Regions from separate parts of the Homo sapiens genome. Here regions 1 and 3 are each linked to region 2. Evidence: promoter capture Hi-C in human tissues and cell types (Jung and others, 2019). All regions are on one chromosome and are shown on one strand. The core of a region is centred on a gene start or on the middle of the fragment in contact, and the rest is flanking DNA. Distances in the headings are between cores, read along the strand shown. Region 1 overlaps NOL10 (nucleolar protein 10). Region 2 holds the start of YWHAQ (tyrosine 3-monooxygenase/tryptophan 5-monooxygenase activation protein theta). Region 3 has its middle 31 kb from the start of LINC01814.

Region 1 (4,565 bases), core at 1,549-4,048, 1.0 Mb before region 2:
ATGTTTTTTTTTGAGACGGAGTTTTTGTTGCCCAGGCTGGAGTGCAGTGGCACAATCTCGGCTCACTGCAGCCTCCACCTCCCAGATTCAAGCAATTCTTCTGCCTCAGCCTCCTGAGGAGCTGGGATTACAGGCATGTGCCACCACACCCAGCTAATTTTTTTTTTTTTTTTTTTGTATTTTTGTATTTTTAGTAGAGATGGGGTTTCACCATGTTGGTCAGGCTGATCTCAAACTCCTGACCTCATGTGATCCACCTGCCTCGGCCTCCTGAAGTGCTGGGATTACAGGCATGAGCCACCGCACCTGGCCCTAATTTTTGTGTTTTTAGTAGAGATGGGGTTTCACCATATTGGCCAGACTGGTCTTGAACTCCTAGCCTCAAGTGATCCACCGCCTCAGCCTCCCAAAGTGCTGGGATTACAGGCATGAGCCCCAAAGTTGTATTTTATATACAAATTGGTTCCTGGTTTCTTCAGTTAACCTTGGAAATATTAATTCTAAGGTACTGCAATTACCTAAAACATTTTTAGTTGCCTCTATTATATGTCATTGGCTGGTTTATGACATGTCTATTATCTTAGAACTGTAAGAGACCCATTGTTTACTTCTGATTCTCTGGATCAGTTTCTTAGGGTGGGCGTTTTTGTTCCAAGTAATGGTGACTTTAATTAGCATGAGTATGAGGGGCTGGTGATGAGAAGAAGTATGAAGTATGAAGTGTGAGGGGCTGGATGATAGCCAGGTGATGAGAAATTGCCTTCTTGACAAATGTTAGCTTATCTTATAAGACCTTTTTAGTTTCAACTTTCTACCTGAGATTTAACAGAAAGCTGTGAAAAAAACATCCAGAGAGCCCTCTCCTAGGTGAGCTGCATATGGGGACAGTGTGAGCAGAAGTTGCTTTTGCTAAGCGAAGCATTATGCTGAAACTTGGACTTCAGTGTTCCTTTCTGACCTACCTTTCTGCCCTGCTCCCTCCCACAGTACTGAGTGATATTTTATAGCACCACTTGTCTTTACTTGGAAACTGCTCTTTGTAAACTCCTTCAAAGCAAAGGGAGAGCCCAGGGGTCTGAAAGCCTGCCATTTTTCATAAGATTTTATCAAACGTACCAAGTTGACGTTTGGCAGGAAGGTTCATTTGAGGCCTATAGAACCAAAGAAATGTGTGTTTAATGTATGATCCATGCCAAGTTTAGGAAGCCTGGACTGTGATTTGTATTAACATCTTATAAATCAGGTTTGAAAACTTTTTCCCTCCCTCTTTGGGGCATACTGAAGATGAAGGCAACTTAGTGTTCTTTTAGCTTGTTAATTTTTGCCTATCTGATATCATCTTTCTTGAGTAATTGAAATCTTTATAAACTAATGCAGTTCCTGATACACCACCTTCTGGCACTTAGATATCTCTGTAGCCAGCTTGTCCTTTGAGACCAAATGGGTTGTCTGCAGCCCCTGTCCCATTTTCTCAGTTCTTTCCTTATTTTTTATTTTTATTTTTATTTTTTTAATTCTCTCAGAGACCAGGTTCTATTGTTTTGTTTGTTTGTTTTCTCCAGGGTCTAATTCGTCTGCAGCTTCAGAGACTAATGCCAAGAATAATTTTTCAAGCTTGCTTTTTCCTCTGAAACATAATTTAATCTTAGGTTAGTTCTTTATAATTAACATCCTTGGCAACTATGTAGACTTCAGAGGGAATCCAAGTCCCCTATGGCACCCAACCCAAAACCTTTCTGCTTAATGGTGTTTCTGTTGGAAATGCTCCTGAATTCCGAGCCCCTAGCATATCAGGGCACTCCTGCAGCCACTCATTGCTTGGTGGTGGTGGTTGGGGTGTGAGTGATTGCTTGCTGCTTGGTAATGTGGATGTGTAAACTTGAGGAAAAATGTAGGAGGAAAACTATTTGTTTGGGAAGCTGTTTGATTTAGATGGAGTCTCGCTCTGTCGCCCAGGCTGGAGTGCAATGGCAGGATCTCGGCTCACTGCAAGCTCTGCCTCCCGGCTTCACGCCATTCTCCTGTCTCAGCCTCCCCAGCAGCTGGGACTATAGGCGCACGCTGCCACGCCCAGCTAATTTTTTGTATTTTTAGTAGAGACGGGATTTCACTGTGTTAGCCAGGATAGTCTTGATCTCCTGACCTTGTGATCCGCCTGCCTCGGCCTCCCAAAGTGCTGGGATTACAGGTGTGAGCCACCGCGCCTGGCCCAAGCTGTTTGATTTAGAAGAATAAAAGTAATTCAGTTGGCCAGGCATGGTGGCTCACGCCTGTAATCCTAGCACTTTGGGAGGCTGAGATGGGCAGATCACTTAAGGGCAGGAGTTTGAGACCAGCCTAGCAAACATAGTGAAACCCCATCTCTACTGAAAGTACAAAAATTAACCAGGCGTGGTGGTGTGTGCCTGTAGTCCCAACTACTCAGGAGGCTGAGGCAGGAGAATCGCTTGAACCTGGAAGGCAGAGGGTGCAGTGAGCCGAGACCACACCAGTGCACTCCAGCCTGGGCAACGGAGCAAGAATCTGTCTCAAAAAAAAAAAAAAAAAAAAAAAAAAAAGGCCAGGCACGGTGGCTCAAACGCCTGTAATCCCAGCACTTTGGGAGGCCAAGGCGGGCGGATCACGAGTTCAGGAGTTCAAGACCAACCTGGCCAACATGGTGAAATCCCGTCTCTACTAAAGAGACAAAAAATCAGCCGGGGGTCATTGTGGGCACCTGTAATCCCAGCTACTTGGGAGGCTGAGGCAGGAGAATTGCTTGAACCTGGGAAGCGGAGGTTGCAGTGAGCTGAAATCATGCCATTGCACTCCAGCCTGGGTGACAGGGTGAGACTCTATCTCAAAAAAAAAAAAAAAAAAAAAAAAAAGGGAATTCAGCTATAAGGGTATGTGCTTTGTTTTTGTTTTTTTCTTTTTTTAATGTCACTATTTAAGATGTTATAAAGAATAAATACTGCACCCAGCTTTCAAGAATGGCAGTTAGGTACTGTTACGTTACGTTACGTTACGTTACGTTACGTCACGTCACGTCACGTCACGTCACGTCACGTTACGTTATTTTTGAATGAGACAGGGTCTTGCTCTGTCACCCTGTCTGGAGTGCAGTGACGTGATCATAACTCACTGCAGCTTCATCCTTTGGGGCTCTAGCATCCTCCCGCCTCAGCTTTGTGAGTAGGTAGGACTACAGGCATGTGCCACCAAGCCCAGCTAATTTTTATGCTGTTTTTTTGTAGAGAGAGGATCTCACTGTGTTGCCAAGGCTGGTCTCAAACTCCTGGCCTCAAGCGATCCTCCCACGTTGGCCTCCCAAAGTGTTGGGATTACAGGTGTAAGTCACTGCACCTGGCCAGTTATTTTATTTTCAAACATTTTCTTAAGAAACTCCTATATTATTTCTATTAAAATATTTTGACTGTTTAAAATAAAACACTGATTAAATATTTTAACATTTACCATTTAATTTAAAATTTGGAAAGTACTCTTGGAGCCTGCAAATGAGGCGGTTAAAAACATGAAGAACCCTTCTAACTTGCACTAGTGCTTCTGCGTCTGTTCAGAATCGCACTGGAGCTTATCCAGCAGTTCATAAACCCACAAAACTCTGTCTTCGCAAATAGAGGACACTATGTGTTAAGAAGCATAAGGCCTCAAAAATACATACCACACAGCTTCACAGAGGCACGCAAACCAAAGGAAATGCACAATTGGAAGCCACATTTTTTGGAATGTAATAAAAGGTTGTTTAGTGAATGTTTCTAAGCCTCTCAGCTGAGTAGGTAGCACACTCCCCGCAGAGGTGAGGCCTTCTGACGCCATCACAGGGTTCAACGCTGGTATCTCCTCAGGGCTTCAGTCACTGGGCTAGGGCAGACATCTGTGCTCCTGCACCTGTAAAGATGGCAAGGCAGTAGGTGCTGCAGAATTTTAGGGGTTGTCAGGGAGATGCTTTTGAAATCATTATAGCTTTGGGAAGTCAGTTTTAGGGAAATGGCATGGACATTTTTCTAGTAAATGTATGAATATTTGCAGTCTGGCAGATTTTTTTCTTGCTCAATGAAGAAATACAAATAGATATTATAGTCTTTTTCTCAGGTTTTTTTCTGTAAGGGTTTTTGGTTTTAGTGTGTGTGTGTGTTTTTTTTTTTTTTTTTTTTTTTTTGAGACAGTGTCTTGCTCCGTGGCCCAGATTAGAGTGCAGTAGCACAATCAACCTCCATCTCCTGGGTCAAGCGATTCTCTTACCTCAGCCTCTCAAGTAGCTGGGATTGCAGGTACGCACCACCACACCTGACTAATTTTTGTATTTTTAGTAGACATGGGGTTTTGCTGTGTTGGCCAGGCTGGTCTTGAATTCCTGGCCTCAAGTGATCCACCCATCTGGGCCTCCCAAGGTGCTAGGATTACAGGCGTGAGCTACCACACCCAGCCTCTAAGGGTTTTGTGACAAAAACAAATTTAGGTGCAAACAATTTTAACTTCTGTCTGTGGTGAATTGAATTTGTTAGTCTAGTTCTAAACTCCATGACTATGTCAATGACTGTTGTCTGTTAGAGAGGTACTTA
Region 2 (4,347 bases), core at 1,037-3,536:
TTTCCTTGTCTGTGAAATAGAGATAGTGAGTATAATAACACCTACTTTGTAGTTGCATTAAGCAGATTGGATAAGTTAATTCTTGCAAAAGACTTAAAATAGTGCTTGACATATGCAATCACTCAACACAGGTTAGCTCTTTCTGTGTCCAGGGACTTCAAGTTCCCAGAGCCTTGTTTCTCTCCAACCCGAGTTCTTTCAGGCACAGAAGCCTTTAGCTATGTAGAGGGTCCTCTGAATCTTCCTAAAATGCAATTTTATACTGTGTTATTGGTTGGAAGCAGTTTTTACCCATGATTCCAGATGATTGCAACTAGATGAGTTGGTGTTCAATAAATATTTGATTGAATGAAAGCAGAAATTTCAGAGACTAAGGTACAGAAAGCAGCAAAAACTTGCCCAAGGTCACTGGGGGAGACCACAGCACAGCCTAGACTTTCTGACAAAGAATTTAGTGTGCTTGCTCCTTCTGGTAGTCCCTCTCTACCACAGAGGTTCCATCCCCTGACAATTTCCTCTCCTGGGTCTCTATCCCCCATCCACCTCCACTGGCTTCTCCCCTTGCCCGGGTTGCCTCTAATTTTGGTGAGCTTGAAATTCACTGGTCATACAGAAGGCATTTTATCTGACCTTCCACATGCAAATTCTTTCCATTGGGATTTCTCGGTGTCCAGCTCCACCCCAGCCCACAGGGCCATAAACACTCATGTGTCTGTAGCGGGGCCCCAGGGATTCCAGAAATAACAGCAGGGCCCTCCATTAGAAGGCTGGAACATAGTAAGGCATTTCTGCATTAAGACACAGGCCCTTTCCAATCCAGGCCGCTCCTGTCTGTCAAAGCACAAAGCAACCTTCACAAGTCAGGACAGGGAGGGGCAGTCAAGAGGGAGTCTGAATTTCTGGAAAGTCGGCACCTTCTCCTCCCATCTGTCTGCACTCTCAAATCTCCCATTCTAGAGATTCTCCGGATTTGCTCCAGTCTCCACTCAGAATGGGAAATTCTTTATGATCCATTCTCCTTAGACCTGCTGGAATCGGGATCATAGCAGCGTGAACCCAGAGGGCAATTCTCATCTTAAGATGGCACAGGGACCACGCGCCAGACGGGCAGGGCAGCCACCCTACCTGGATGGAGTTAGGGAACTGGGGAAGTGCAAGGAGAGACAGGAGTGGTTTAAGAGGAAAGGGAGCTGCCAGGGATGACCCTGAATGGGAGGGGCCTGGGGGAATCTTTCTCGCTTCAGCAGGGTGTTCCCCAGGAGGAGAAAATCAGAAATCAACATCCAGGGAGAGGATTTCAGCTTTTCAAGTGACCTCTCACAAATAATACCAGAAACAAAAGCGTGTGCACATGTGACAACGATGTGAAAAATGATGTATTTAGGTGCATAACCTGGAAAGCCTAAAAGATACATAAAAATTGCTTTTTTTTTGCGGGGAGAGATGTTATGGGCAGGGTTTTTTTTTGCGGGGGTGGGAAGGGGTAGTAATAGGTGTTTTCCTGCAAATTGTGCTTAATGTCATTTCTCATTTTAAAGAAAACCACAATACTTGGCATTGTCACAGAAACTCCCCTGGATCTTCTGGGACCTACCTTTTCACAAGGGAATTTTTTGTTTTAGGATGCCCATCTGAAAACTTGAATTTATCATGTAAATGCCATACTGAAGACACCGTCTCCAGAATCAATTCTTCTTTAATGGGGATGCGGTTTGCTTAATTCGGAGCCCTAATGGCAACGTCATTAAGGTCTGGGTTTAGTGTCTTGGGATCCAAACCTTTGTCACGGATAGAAAGGTGGAGGAAAGAAAGGCCCCCGTGCTCTAAAACAGCTGAATATGTCACCCTCCGAAGTCCAGCCTCGGCCAGAGCCCGTGAGATGCAATGCACCATCCGCAGCGGGAGACGCAGCCGCCGCCTAGGAGGTCGTGCGCGCCTCTGGGTCTCGTGCCGCACCCAGAAGTGCCGGGGTGGCGGGGAGGCTGAGGGGAGTTGGTAACGGCATCGCCATGGCAACAGTGACGTCCTTTTACCCTGGATCTAATTGGAGGAAACCCCGTGGCCGAAGCCGCAGCCTGCCGGCCAACCGAACTTCCCCGTACCGACCCACCCTCCTAGCCTCCGCGTTCCCTCCCGCTCCGCCCCCCTCGCCCCCTTCCGCGCGCTCGGTCCTCATTGGCCAGCGGCGCGCTGGGGGCGGGACTCTCGGGAGAAGCTCGGCGCATCATTGGGCGGTGGACCGCCCCTCGGCCCCGGGGTAGGCTGACACGGGAGGGTCCTCAGCTAAAGCCAAAAGCAGATCAAAGTGGTGGGACTCGCGTCGCGGCCGCGGAGACGTGAAGGTGAGCGCCTGGGTCGGCCCGCGGGCTTCCTCCGGCCGCGCTCGGATTGAGGGCCGGGCGGAGGTGCCGCCCTTGAGAGCAGCCGGTTGTCGATGCCGCTCCCCTCAGGGACGGCTCCGGGCGGGAAGGTGCGGGGCCAACGGTCGCTTCCATCTTGGGCCGGCCGGGCGGGGGTGGCGGGAGCGGCCGCGGCTCGGGCTCCCTGCGCGCGGGGCCTCCGCGCCGCCCCCGCCTCCTCCAGCCGCGGGCCGCGGCCTCCCCGGGTGCCCAGCGGGGGAGGGGGCGGGGGAGAGGGAAATTCAAGCGGCCGCGTGTGCGGGAGACAAAAGCGGGCGGCGGGCCGCATTGTCTGACGGCGCTCCCTCTCTGCTTTTTGTTCTCGCCTCGCCGCCCCGCCCCTCCGCAGCTCTCGAGGCTCCTCCCGCTGCGGGTCGGCGCTCGCCCTCGCTCTCCTCGCCCTCCGCCCCGGCCCCGGCCCCGCGCCCGCCATGGAGAAGACTGAGCTGATCCAGAAGGCCAAGCTGGCCGAGCAGGCCGAGCGCTACGACGACATGGCCACCTGCATGAAGGCAGTGACCGAGCAGGGCGCCGAGCTGTCCAACGAGGAGCGCAACCTGCTCTCCGTGGCCTACAAGAACGTGGTCGGGGGCCGCAGGTCCGCCTGGAGGGTCATCTCTAGCATCGAGCAGAAGACCGACACCTCCGACAAGAAGTTGCAGCTGATTAAGGACTATCGGGAGAAAGTGGAGTCCGAGCTGAGATCCATCTGCACCACGGTGCTGGTGAGTCCTCGGCGCGGGGAGCAGGGGAGGCCTTTTGTGAGATGCTTTTCATTGAGAGTTTCGCGGGCACGGAAACAAACGTGAGCCGGGGCTTGCCGGACTGTCTGCTGGGGTGGAGGGTTTTAGGTGAGCCCTGACTTCCCTACTGTGTCCCTCCGGTTGTTGAGACTCAAGAAGCCGCTTTTCCAAGGATAAGTCCTTTTTTTTCGCCCCAGATGCTGGGTAGCTACCAAACGATGGAACTTGGAAACATCCAAGTAGGTCTCTGCGAGACTGAAAGGCGTTTTTAAGTTTCTTGTGCGGGGAGACTGCGTCCTGAGATCTGTGAGCCCTTTAAATGTATTCAGTCGGTTCACAAGCTTCAGGCAGTTGAAAGAAGGCGCAGGCACCTTTTTGTTACAGACAATGTAGTAGGGATTTTTTCCCAAACCCAGTAATGGAAATTTACTTAGAAAATCTGAACAGATACTTTATTTTTCAAGTAAGAGTATCTGTTGTGCTCCCCCCCACCCCCCATAAACAGGAGAGGAGGGGAGTTCGGGAAATGTGAAAAGGACACAGCTGTATCTGAAGAACACAATGTCCTGGTAAATTTCAACATTTAATAACATTTCCTTGCTGTTGCACACCTGTGCTTAAACACTAGTGTTGAAGTGAATTCGTTTCCAGTGTGGAGCAGACAAGGAAAGCTTTCCAGGTTTTGAACTGTCCAGTCTTAGCAAGGACGATTGTTGGGTGGAGTAGGTGGCTGCTGTGATTCACCCTTATTAGTGAGAGAGAACATTTTTAGCTTTGTCATTCCATGGATCTTTTGATCCGTAGGATAAGTTTTTAAAACTGAAATACCAGCATTATATCCAGGAGTGTTTTTAAATGTTTCAGTGCTGCCAAGAGTCATTTCTATGAATAAAATGGGAAATAATCTCATATGGTTTGCCTTTTAAGTGTCACTTTTACAAGAGGCCTACTTATTTTTGATGTGTTTGTGCACATCATATTTTAGGTGGGCTTTGATAGACAAGCATACTAGACTGGGGATTTTTCAAAAGGGAATGGAAGAAATAATTTCTCCCTGGCCTCCTCCCCCACCCCCACCCCCCAAGCCGCCTTTCTTCATCTCATCAGAATGGTGGGGCAGGGAATATGTTCCCCACCCCTTGTTTAAAAAAAAAAAATCCACGAAACTTTTTTAACCTATCTATTTTTCTAATACGATGACAGGC
Region 3 (4,206 bases), core at 1,463-3,962, 1.1 Mb after region 2:
ATTCAAACAGAGGGGACATAAACCTCACTTCTCAATGGGAGAAATGTCAAATAATTTGTGGATATGTTTTAAAGCTGCTTCAGCCTCCCTTATCACATATTAAATTTCCATTTATAATGGATCTGTTTCTAGACTCTAACATGTCCCAGTGGTCTATTTGTTTAACCCCGCTCCAACATCACCTGCCATCCTACAGACTTTTCTTCTCGGTTATGACAATATTTTAAAATTTCTAAAATAAAACTTTGGTTAGAAAGTAATATTACCTGTAAGCAATGATTTTTTTTGTGTGTCCATTGGGGGTTCATGGAGTTTTTAGGGTGGGTACACATGATATTATGCGCTGACATCTTGTAATTATATCTCTACTTCTTAGAGGAGAATTTCAGCACCTGTTGAGTTCATCTACCTCACCCCTGACCATTTTATAGGGCAAAGAAGCCCATGCAAAGACATTAAGTGGTTTGGCCATGGTCCCTAGCATGTTGGAGGCAGGGCTGGCCCCGGAACCCAGGTCTCCTGACTGCAGCATGGTGCCCTGCCTATCAGGCTGGCTGGATTCTTCACACCCCAGCCTTCGTTGGTTACATTGTGCTCACTATTGATGGTTGCCTGTGGCCGTTGACAAGGGTTTTGGTTACCTGTATGTATGATGCTGACAGTAAACTGTGGAGCAAACGCGCCTCCTGCACGGTGAGACAGCCCCCAGGTAGAAACGGCGTCTTGGCTGGTGCCCCACACTGCACGGTTACTTCAACCTTCATGCACTGAGCACTGCACCAACTGCCAGAAGAATGTATTGGCCATTTTCATCATTTCTACACTGGATGCTGGGTTTGGGATTTAGAGATCAGCTGTGGAGTAGGCTGACCTCTTACCAATGCCCTGGGAAAATGCGGTTCAAATTAATCGTCATTCCCTGGGCTGTTGGGAGCTGCTTGCAGGGAATATCTCCCTGGAGGTCTCTTTTTTGCTTTGCCCTGAACTTTAAGACCCTCAGAACTTTCTGTAAGAGGCTGGCCTTTTAGAGCTGAGAGGGACTTCTGTAACCTAAACTAGGTTAACCAGACTTGGATATTTGGCAGACATTTTCTTGAAAATAAATGAAGTAAGCCTGTGGCTTCAGGAAAAATAACTGATAGTATCTGTTGCCATACAATTAGACCTTTCGTGTGAAAATTAAAATTTTAGAAAACTTGTATCCATTGCTGTGAGCTTGATAGCTTCCTAACACCTCCGGACTTTTCTGATGGAATTCATGATCATATTAATGCACTGGCTGTGTAATGAAATGTGTTGACGTTTGATAGATCACACGTCAGTGAATCAATATTTGCCAAATGACCAATACATTTATTGCAAAATCATGAGTGGGTAAACAAATGATCTATTCAAAGTGCAGGATAGCTAATAGATTTTAATGTAGTCATATAAAAAAAATAGGTGAGATGGGTTCTCATTCAACAGTGCAGCTAACCTATGAGAAACTATCATGATTTGAATTTTGGTATAGTATGGAAGAGGAATAGCCACAATTGTCTGAAAAGTCTATTACAGACATGTCCCTCTTTTCTAGCTACATATTTGTTTCGGGCTGAATTTTCTTCACATGCCTCAGCTAAAGTGATCTAATGGCCCAGGCTGAGGGCAGAAGCAGATCTGACAACCTGGCTGTTTTCTAAGTCAGACACCCAGGAGCTTTGAACAGGCATAAATTATTGCCATTCTTCTCACTGATATTTTTGTTTTGAAAAGTATAGTGGCTGGGGCACGGTGGCTCACGCTTGTAATCCCAGCACTTTGGGAGGCCGAGGCAGATGGATTACTTGAGGTCAGTAGTTCGAGACCAGCCTGGCCAACATGATGAAACCCTGTCTTTACTAAAAACACAAAAATTAGCTGGGCATGGTTGTGGGCGCCTGTAACCCCAGCTACTGGAGAGGCTGAGGCAGGAGAATCGCTTGAAACCGTGAGGCAGAGGTTGCAGTGAGCTGACATTGGGCCACTGCCACTCCAGCCTGGGTGACAGAGCAAGACTCTGTCTCAAAAAAAAAAAAAAAAAAAAAAAAAGAAAGAAAGAAAATGTAGTTATTTTTCTTAAAATATGAAATTTATGTTTACATGTCATGAATTATTGTTATTTTTGATACAAGTTGATACATATTTTAAAATTTTCTCAGTTTTAATTTGTAAAACAGCAAATGCCATCAAATCTAAACTCACATGAACAAAAGCTTTTGAGGATGCTGAATAATTTTTAAGAGGGCAAAGTGGTCCTGAGGCCAAAAAATCTGAGAGAGGCTGCTTTTCAGAAAAACCTACCTTAGTTTAAACAGTTAAGAGACCTCTGCACAGGCACCTGGTTGGTGAGGCCTATGCCAGGTGCAAGGGCGGCCCCCCGGCTGTTACCTGTGAGCTTTCACCAGGTCTGACTTCTGCCTTTTAGGCAAATGACCTGGATCCTGTGGGGCATGACTCGGAGACCACTGGGCATGTCTCCTCTTCGGCGTGCTATTTAAAAGCAAATGAAATGGTACCAGCGTGTATTTCTGAACGAGTGTGAAAAGAGAACGTCAGAATAGAAAGTTCAACGGTAACTGTGCAATGAGTAATGTGGGTGTTCTCTAATGGGGACCAGGAAAAGGGAAACTTGTCGGGAAGACGGGGTGTATGCTGATGTCAGGAGGTCTTGTGTGAGGCTGCTGAGGCCCTCCCAGATCTGCTTCACATCCGCTTCTCACATCTGCATCTGAGGCCCCGCTGTCTCACCCCCGAGTGTGGAAAAGGGGGACTCGGCTGCACCCTCCCTGTGCTCGCCCCCATTGTTCTCTACACCCTCTGTGCGTGTGCTGCTGAGTTTATAGTCCGGGATTGTGGGTGGAAAGACAGCTTTGTATTTCTGAATGTTAAGAAGATAGAGTAAAGCCACTTCAGTGTATTCTTTTTTTTTTCCCGCAAAGGTATATCCATGGACAATTTTCACCTTTGTCTTTCCTGGGATTATGTGTATATGCCCTCTGTCCCCACCCTGTTCTGGATTCAGAGATGAATTGGACTTGTCAAGAAAGTGCTCAAAGTCTCGTTGGGAACTAGATAGAAAGATCGAAAACTACACAGGGGTCTGAGGGGATGTGATGAGTCATCTTCCAGACAGTGACTGCAGTGGGCGTCTAGAGAGGGCTGTGCCCTGACGGTGGTGTGGTGGGGTAGTGAGAACGGATCCGGGGAGAAGGAGATTTGGGGGAGGGAGAAAGTAGTCACATGGGGCTGCATAGAAGCAGGTGTTCAGAGGGAAGGGAATTGAGAACTGCTCCCCAGGAGAGCTGGAAGGCTAAGTCCAGGTGACCCATACGGAGTCACCAGGTAGTGAAGACAAGAGCAGGGTGCAGGCATGGGGAGGCAAACCCAGATGATTTTCTGAGCAGTTGGCTTGTGGTCATGAGTGTTTTGATTTCACTGATCCCGCTGAACACACACTGCCTCTTGCCAAGTCCAGCCTTGAAGAGTTGGAGTCATCTGGAAAAATTCATAATTAAGGGAGGGCATGAACTTGACCTTGAAGGGCCACCAGGATTTGGGTAAGAAGAATGGGAAAAGCATTTGAGGGTTAGGAAAGGGGTAGATGAAGGCTTAGAAGTGGGAAGGTGCCAGGCATGTGGACCGGGGGACTGGAGCCAGGGGGTGGTGTGGGGAGTGGGCCGGGCTGTGAAGCTGAAGGCCCTGCAGGCCAGACTCAAGCATGGTCCTTGCCTGTTGGCTGTGGGAGCCACGGATGGTCTTTGAACAGCAATTAGGACTGTATGACAGGGCCCTTATCATGACACCTGGGAGTGACTGAAGGAGCAGTGGAAACGCCAGGACCATTAGGGTTTCTCTTCATTGAGGGCAGTCAAAGAGAAAAGGAGAGATGAAAAAAATCACTGCTTTAGAGGAATTGGGGGCTGACTGGAATCGTATGGCAAGGGAGCGGAGGAGTGAGGGATGGTGCCAAGTTTTCGGCCTGACACCAGCGAAATACAAATACGCTTGTGTTTCTTTACATAGCCGAGCGCGCAGATGATCTTTAAGACGTGCTCGTCTGATTTGGCACTTGGATTCTGGGAGGAACAGGAGGAAGAAATCTCTCAGACTGGGAATCAAGTTTTAGCTCCCCTTGGGGCTATTATTATTACCTAAGGAACACAGTCAGGCTCCTGGGTGAAGAAT

The links. Contacts are between HindIII fragments. The study calls those that stand out against the background at their distance.
Region 1: a fragment that was not itself captured here is called in contact with the fragment with the promoter of YWHAQ in region 2 in 1 of the 25 tissues and cell types used here (small bowel).
Region 3: a fragment that was not itself captured here is called in contact with the fragment with the promoter of YWHAQ in region 2 in 1 of the 25 tissues and cell types used here (aorta).

What each region holds. Positions count from the first base shown.
Region 1 is chr2:10,636,786-10,641,350 of GRCh38, reverse strand. All of the region lies in intron 13 of NOL10 (nucleolar protein 10), which reads left to right. Among named protein-coding and RNA genes, the nearest start is that of NOL10, 51 kb to the left of the region's middle. The HindIII fragment of the contact is 3,986 bases long and covers 806-4,565 here.
Region 2 is chr2:9,628,936-9,633,282 of GRCh38, reverse strand. It overlaps YWHAQ (tyrosine 3-monooxygenase/tryptophan 5-monooxygenase activation protein theta), which reads left to right and starts at 2,286. Exons shown (of 6, transcript NM_006826.4): 1 at 2,286-2,342; 2 at 2,749-3,124. The coding sequence starts at 2,831. RefSeq lists silencers at 1,965-2,134, 2,185-2,284, 2,485-2,834 and enhancers at 2,955-3,054, 2,798-3,700. The HindIII fragment of the contact is 8,846 bases long and covers 1-3,648 here.
Region 3 is chr2:8,550,943-8,555,148 of GRCh38, reverse strand. No RefSeq gene overlaps it. Among named protein-coding and RNA genes, the nearest start is that of LINC01814, 31 kb to the left of the region's middle. The HindIII fragment of the contact is 3,310 bases long and covers 1,058-4,206 here.